Regions from separate parts of the Homo sapiens genome. Here region 2 is linked to region 1. Evidence: promoter capture Hi-C in 16 types of primary human blood cells and fetal thymus (Javierre and others, 2016). All regions are on one chromosome and are shown on one strand. Each heading gives the region's core, a stretch centred on a gene start or on the middle of the fragment in contact. The rest is flanking DNA. Distances are from core to core; before and after follow the strand shown. Region 1 holds the start of MYH3 (myosin heavy chain 3). Region 2 overlaps DNAH9 (dynein axonemal heavy chain 9).

Evidence for each region. The method cuts DNA at HindIII sites, captures the fragments that hold promoters and counts their contacts. A CHiCAGO score of 5 or more calls a contact.
Region 2: a contact is called between a fragment that was not itself captured here and the fragment with the promoter of MYH3 in region 1, in 1 of 17 cell types (endothelial precursors). The highest score is 6.6, in endothelial precursors.

What each region holds. Positions count from the first base shown.
Region 1 is chr17:10,655,700-10,658,975 of GRCh38, reverse strand. MYH3 (myosin heavy chain 3) reads left to right here and starts at 1,667. Exons shown (of 41, transcript NM_002470.4): 1 at 1,667-1,687; 2 at 2,828-2,886. The HindIII fragment of the contact is 3,770 bases long and covers 1-2,941 here.
Region 2 is chr17:11,945,955-11,949,612 of GRCh38, reverse strand. The region is part of intron 67 of DNAH9 (dynein axonemal heavy chain 9); the gene reads right to left. Among named protein-coding and RNA genes, the nearest start is that of ZNF18, 50 kb to the left of the region's middle. RefSeq lists enhancers at 368-867, 868-1,369. The HindIII fragment of the contact is 1,588 bases long and covers 541-2,128 here.

The DNA of each region.
Region 1 (3,276 bases), core at 418-2,917:
GACCTTGTTAACACCGCTGCTCCCCTCGGTGATATTTACCTGTCCGTGGCTGTCCTGACCAATACTCCCAAGGAGACAGTGCATCACTGGGCCAACAGGGCAGAGCCCCAGGGGACCACTCCCTTTACGACATGGACGGACACTTTAGGAGTGACGGTTACCCTCTCCTTGGATGAGGAGGGGCTCCAAGGATGGACATGTCAGTCTCACCTGGAGGGAGAGGGGCAGTGGGTGGGGGCAACGCTCAGTGGCTGGTGGACAGGCAAGGGGTGAGTGAGCCCTGCCCAACTGACTCCATTGGCGGCCACTGGCCTTGCCTGGCATTCACGGAACAGGCGCTTCATAAACTTGTTGCTTCAATGTGAAATCACCTCAATTTTGTAAATGCGTCTGTAGCATCCACAGGACTCATCATCTAGAATTCAAACCCTTAAGGGTAAAGGCTGCGTCTTCTGTTTCCTCTGCGTCTTCTCGAAGCACTGTGTGTAAGGGCCAGAGCACAGAGGATGTTTCATACACGTGCCTTTGCCCTGAGACCGCAGCCCTGCCTCCCCGGTCCCACGCAGACCTCATGGAGTGGCCTCCACTTCGGGGCTTGGTACTGCTGTGTACGGAAGGGGCGGTTTCTATGGGAAACATGGACAAACAGTTCTATTTGGAATAAGCAACCACAGGGTGCCCACCCAGCCATCCTCCCAAAGATTTGTCAAGAAAAAAAAAGTAGAACGAGAATGGGCAAAAGCGTCCGACATACTTTACTCTTCTCTTGAGGCTTTATTTTTCCACTCCTGATTTAGAGATGACCACATTTGTTAGACAGCCCCCCCTTGTCCGCCCTTTCTCTGCAGGCCACCACCGTTCCCCCTACCCCATCCCAGCCAGCAGCTGGTCTTTCCTAATTGGTAATCTGTCTTAATAGCCACAGGTCCTCAGGCAGCTGTCGCCGGGAATACGAGCTGGCAGCATAGATCCACGTCACTAACTTAACTGGCTGGTCCTATTAGAGCTTAAGAAAGAATTAAGTTAATAATGATACTAATGAGACAGAACGTTGCATAGGAGAAAATAAGAGAAAGAAGGAGAGGAGTAGAAGGAGGAGAAGGGAGAAGAGGGCAAGGGGGGAGGGGAATTATTGCTATTAATTATTATTATTATTAATTATTCCTGGCACAGGTTTTGCAATCACAACCCAAGGTTGTGATAAAATCTTGCTCAAAATTCAAAAAGGATTTCAACTTTTCACTCTCAGTCTTATTCACTTTTCCATATGATGAGATTTCTAAGTAAGCCACCCGACTTCAGTCCTTGGTGCCCAATAGCTAGGGGCTCACGCCGCGTTCAGGGTGTGATGAGCGCCTGAGAACGGAGGTGGCTGCCCCCGCAACTCCTCCTGGAGTGAGGCCATCCCATCCCATCAGGGGAGGGAGCACCGGCCCCAAGTTCAGAGAAAGGCATCCCAAGCTCCTGACATTCTGCGGTCGGAAAATGGTGATGGATCCTGCTCATTTCTAATTATACCTTTCCCTTGGCAACGACAAAGATACGTGTGGAAGAAGCTGGTTCTCGGCTTGGGGGGGCCACTCATCCTCTTGCCAAATATAGAGAAGGAATGAGCCGCGGGGGTTACCAATGGCCTATAAAAGCCCCGGGGAGCAGCCAGCCCTCTGTGGCTCGCTTGTGGGCGGAGGTAAGTCACAGGCTCCTCTTCTAGGTCTCAGCTGCTTGGAGCACACCCACCCGGTGAGCACATCCACACCCCGTGCGTGGTTCCCTGGCCCTGCCTGGCTCTGCTGAGGTGGCGCCTCATGCCTTTCTGAGTTTTCTTAGGATAAGCAAGGTGTAGAGAGCGAGGTTCCCTGGGCCCAAACACCCAGCACCCTCTGGCTCCAGCACCTCCCCCAAGCAGGAGCCCTGCAGGTTCTCTCTCCTCCACACACTCTCCCCTGTCCTCCTCTCCAAGTGTCCTCTTGGGCAGGATCCTTTTGGATGCCCCGTGAGCCCAGCTGCCATGGCTTGACCTTCTCCCATTGCCTCTGTGACCCATGAAGGGTCAACAGGACTGGGGACCTCACTCTGCCCTCACCTTCCCCACCTGGGCTGTACATCTGCCAGGTGTCTTGTCCTCTCAAGACCACACTGGCTGTGGGCATTGCGTGTAAATTAATCTCAGAGATATTGCCTGTTCACAGACAAGGAGACCTGCCCCTGCCCTCGAACTGTTGACTTTAAGCAGGGATGCGGTCCCTGCTGTCCGATTCTAAATGGGAGTGAGGAAGACTGAAGAAGGTGCCAGTGCAGGCTGAGAGAAACCAGATTTCTGCACAGCTGAGGGTTTTTCCTCCCTGCCTGGCTTCCTGTGGGTCACGTCCCATCTGCTCTTCCATCTTCCAGCCTGCCTCTTTAAAGTATTAGTCTTTTTTTTTTTTTTTTTTTTTTTTGAGACAGAATTTTGCTCTTGTCGCCCAGGCTGGAGTGCAATGGCACAATCTCGGCTCACTGCAACCTCTGTCTCCCAGGTTCAAATGATTCTCCTGCCTAAGCCTCCAGAGTAGCTGGGATCACAGGCATCTGCCGCCACGCCCAGCAATTTTTTAAATTTATTTTTTATTTTTAGTAGAGAAGGGGTTTCACTATGTTGGCCAGACTGGTCTCAAACTCCTGACCTCAGGCCATCTTTCCGCCTCGGCTTCCCAAAGTGCTGGGATTACAGGCGTGAGCCATGGCGCCTGGCCCCTTTATCCTTTTTAGTTAACTCGTCAGAAGCCGATTCTACATGGACGCAGCCACCCCAAGTGCCGCTAAGTTGTGTATGTGCATATTCTTCCAGGTCTGGGATCTCCTGGCTGTTGCTGTCTTCTGCTCTCATCCTGCAGGTGGGACTCTCAGGTGAGAAGTTGGGCCCTGTCCCTCGGCTGTTGGAGATCTCCAGGCAATCCAAGCTTGCCAGTTCCTTTCTCCCTCCTCCCACCGGCCATAAGGGCACAGAGGGACAGGGGAACTAGCACATTTAGACAAGGACAGGTCGTGGCCGGGTGCAATGGCTCACACCTGTAATCCCAGCACTTTGAGAGGCCGAGGTGGGCAGATCATGAGGTCAGGAGTTCAAGACCAGCCTGACCAACATGGTGAAACCCCGTCTCTACTAAAAATAGAAAAATTAGCAGGACGTGGTGGCAAGTGCCTGTAATCCCAGCTACTCAAGAGACTGAGGCAGGAGTATCGCTTGAACCTGGGAGGCAGAAGTTGCAGTTAGTGGAGATCGTGCCACTGCACTCC
Region 2 (3,658 bases), core at 85-2,584, 1.3 Mb before region 1:
CTACTCAGGAGGTTGAGGCAGGAGAATTGCTTGAACCTGGGAAGTAGAGGTTGCGGTGAGCTGAGATTGCGCCATTGCACTCCAGCCTGGACAACAAGAGCAAAACTCCGTCTCAAAGAAAAAAAAAAAAAGTCTCAAGCTATACTACAGCAAAGACACCTACTTATGTTAATTCAACCAGTTTCCTAAACTCCTCTGGCCTGAATCCTGTTTAACAGCGATTAATATTCACACTTGCTCACAGGTCAAGAGTCAACAAAGAGAAAACTTAAAACACTGGACCCTTCGCTCAAGAAAATGCTGCATTTCAGGGTCTACAAGGTGCTTCCTCGGTTTTGGCATTGCAATGAAACTCTGGGAGAACTACAGGCTGGGTGGCCCCTTTTCAGGATAGGAGGGCTATCTGGCTGTGACCTTAACCCTTTCATTCATCCCTATCAATAAATGCTTTCATAATCTTTCTTTGGCATAATACAGAGTGAAAACCTCATTTTTCCTGTAGGTCTTCGTTCTTTTAAGTCAGGGAGCCTGTTAAAAGCTTGGATTTGTAGGCTGTAGTCCAAACTAAGGACTCATACCTCTGGGAATGAGGCCAGGAACTTCCATTTGAAAAGGGCGCCTCTGATCTCTGATGTGTCTGAAGCAGCTGTTGCCCTGGGCTCACGGTCATGCAGCGGGCGTTCAGTCCACAGAGGGCCAGGGGACAGGGCAGCAGCACCCAGGTCCTCCCTCCTGGAGGGGCTCCATGCTGTAGCCTGTCCTGAGGCTTAGCTCCTCTCTGTTTTTTCTACCCTATGAAGATGTTCTTGGCGAGGAGCTTTCATTTGTTTAAGACACTGGGAGCTGAGGACATGGGAAGAAGTGAAAGTGATAAGGGTCCCACTCCTTCCAGGCTGGCCTCCAGGCTGGGTTGGCAGCAGCCTTTCTATTCAGGTATTCTGGTAGAGTACTGGAAGGCCAAAGGCATAGAGGCCAGGATAGCTGCTCAGTGGGTGGGGATGAAAGGGCCATAGCACGGCCCACCCTTCCAGACCTGAACTATTCAAGTCAACACACAGTGCATCAGAATAAAGAGCCAGAGGAGGCCGGGTGCGGTGGCTCACGCCTGTAATCCCAGCACGTTGGGAGGCCGAGGCGGGTGGATCACTTGAGGTCAGGGGTTCGAGACCAGCCTGGCCAACACGGTGAAACCTCATCTCTAGTAAAAAACACAAAAATTAGCCGGGCACGGTGGCAGGCACCTGTAATTCCAGCTACTTGGGAGGCTGAGGCAGGAGAATAGCTTGAACCCAAGAGGTGGAGCTTGCAGTGAGCCGAGATCGTGTCACTGCACTCCAGCCTGGCAACAGAGTGAGACTCCGTCTCAAAAAAAAAAAAAAAAAAAAAAAGAGCCAGATTAGATCCCCAGTCAGCAAGCCAGACTTTAAAACTTGAACAGCTTCACATCTTTAGAAACAGATTTTGTCAATCAGGAGGGGCAATCAACCACTGAAGCATAGAAAAAAAGCCTGATGCCATCACACGTTTGAATGATAAAAATCAGTTCCTGGCCAGGCGTGGTGGCTCACACCTGTAATCCCAGCACTTTGGGAGGCCGAGGTGGGTGGATCACAAGGTCAGGAGTTTGAGACCAGCCTGGTCAATAAGGTGAAACCCCGTCTCTACTAAAGAAACACAAGAATTAGCTGGGCGTGCTGGCGGGAGCCGGGAGGCTGAGGCAGGAGAATCGCTTGAACCCGGGAGACAGAGGTTGCAGTGAGCTGAGATCGCACTACTGCACTCCAGCCTGGGCAACAGAGCAAGACTCTGTCTCAAAAAAAAAAAAAAAAAAAAAAAAAAATAGTTCCCAGCCCCTCCCAGATTCTGGGCTGGCCATGGCTCCATCTAAGATATGCACTGCCTAAATGAAATAGAATGCAAACCACATATGAGAGCCACATAGGTAATTAAAAATTTTCTGGAATTCACATTTTAAAAGTAAAAAACCAAACAGGTGAATTTAACTTTTATTTAACTCAATATATCTAAAATACCAAACATCATTTCAATATATAATAAATATAAAATTACTAGACTATTTTATAGTTTTTGGTCTTATGGCTTTGAAATGTGGTGTGTAATTTAAGCTTATAGCACATCTCAATTTGGACTATTCCATTTCAAGGCTCAGTAGGCACCTGTCATTAATGGCTACTGTATTGGGCATTAAAAGTCTAAGAACTTGTCTTCTGTAGTTTTCCTACATAGGGAGATAATTTCTGGGCAGTCTGTTGTCAGTATATGCCCCTTTGAAAATGATGCCTAGTTGTTATTGAAACAGAATAAATTGGCCATTGGGCATTTGGTACATCAGGCTTTTGTGAGTTTGGTTAGTGAAAGTCAATACCCCTTCCAGTCAGCTCTGGGATAATCACAGGACCTGGTTCCTCATCTTGTGAGGCTGAGAGACAGATGTCTAACTGTGGTGAATTCCCAAAAGAATTCCTTTCTATGGGAACATATTTGTGGCCCCCAGATGATGCCTTCCTTTACCACTTTTGTGTGCTTTGAGCTCCTGTAGTCCTCAAGGCTTTCATTGCTGTGCTTTTCAGTAGCTAATACTTTTTAGGTAGACATTATGGCCTCCCATCCAGCCAAATATGAAGTATGGTGAATAACAATATCTTTTTCATGAATGCTAACAGTGTTGACTTAATGACTTCAAAAATTAGACATTTTCTAACCTTGGTGCCCAGTCTGGGCACAGCATTTGGGTTTGTCCAATTAATGTGTTGGCTAACATGGGTAGACCTGTCTCCCTATGCTCAACCTGAAACAGCCCTGGAATATTTTATTTTATTTTTCGGCTTGCAAGCATTTTTTTTTCTTTTTCAATTTTAAAATACCGTTATATATTTAGAGGGTACAAGTGCAGATTTTTTTTTTCTTTTTCTTTTTTTTTTTTTTTTTGAGATGGAGTCTTGCTCTGTGGCCCAGGCTGGAGTGCAGTGGTGGCATCTTGGCTCACTGCAAGCTCCGCCTCCCGGGTTCACGCCATTCTCCTGCCTCAGCCTCCCGAGTGGCTGGGACTACAGGTGCCTGCCACCACGCCTGGCTATTTTTTTTGTATTTTTAGTAGAGACAGGGTTTCACCATATTGGCCAGGCTGGTCTCAAACTCCTGACCTTGTGATCCACCCACCTTGCCCTCCCAAAGTGCTGGGATTACAGGTGTGAGCCACCACACCTGGCCGGGAAGTAATTTTTATCATTCAAACGTGTGATGGTGTCAGGCTTTTTGTCTATGCTTCAGTGGTTGATTGCCCCTCCTGATAGACAAAATCTGTTTCTAAAGATGTGAAGCTGTTCAAGTTTAAAGTCTGGCTTGCTGACTGGGGATCTAATCTGGCTCTTTTTTTTTTTTTTTTTTTTTTTGAGATGGACTCTTGCTCTGTCACCCAGACTGGAGTGCAGTGGCATGATCTCAGCTCGCTGCAACCTCCACCTCCCGGGTTCAAACTATTCTCCTGCCTCAGCCTCCCAAGTAGCTGGGATTACAGGTGCGTGCCACCACGCCTGGCTAATTTTTGTATTTTTTAGTAGAGATGAGGTTTCACCATGTTGGCCAGGCTTGTCTCCAACTCCTGACCTCAACTGATCCGCCCACCTCGGCCTCCCAA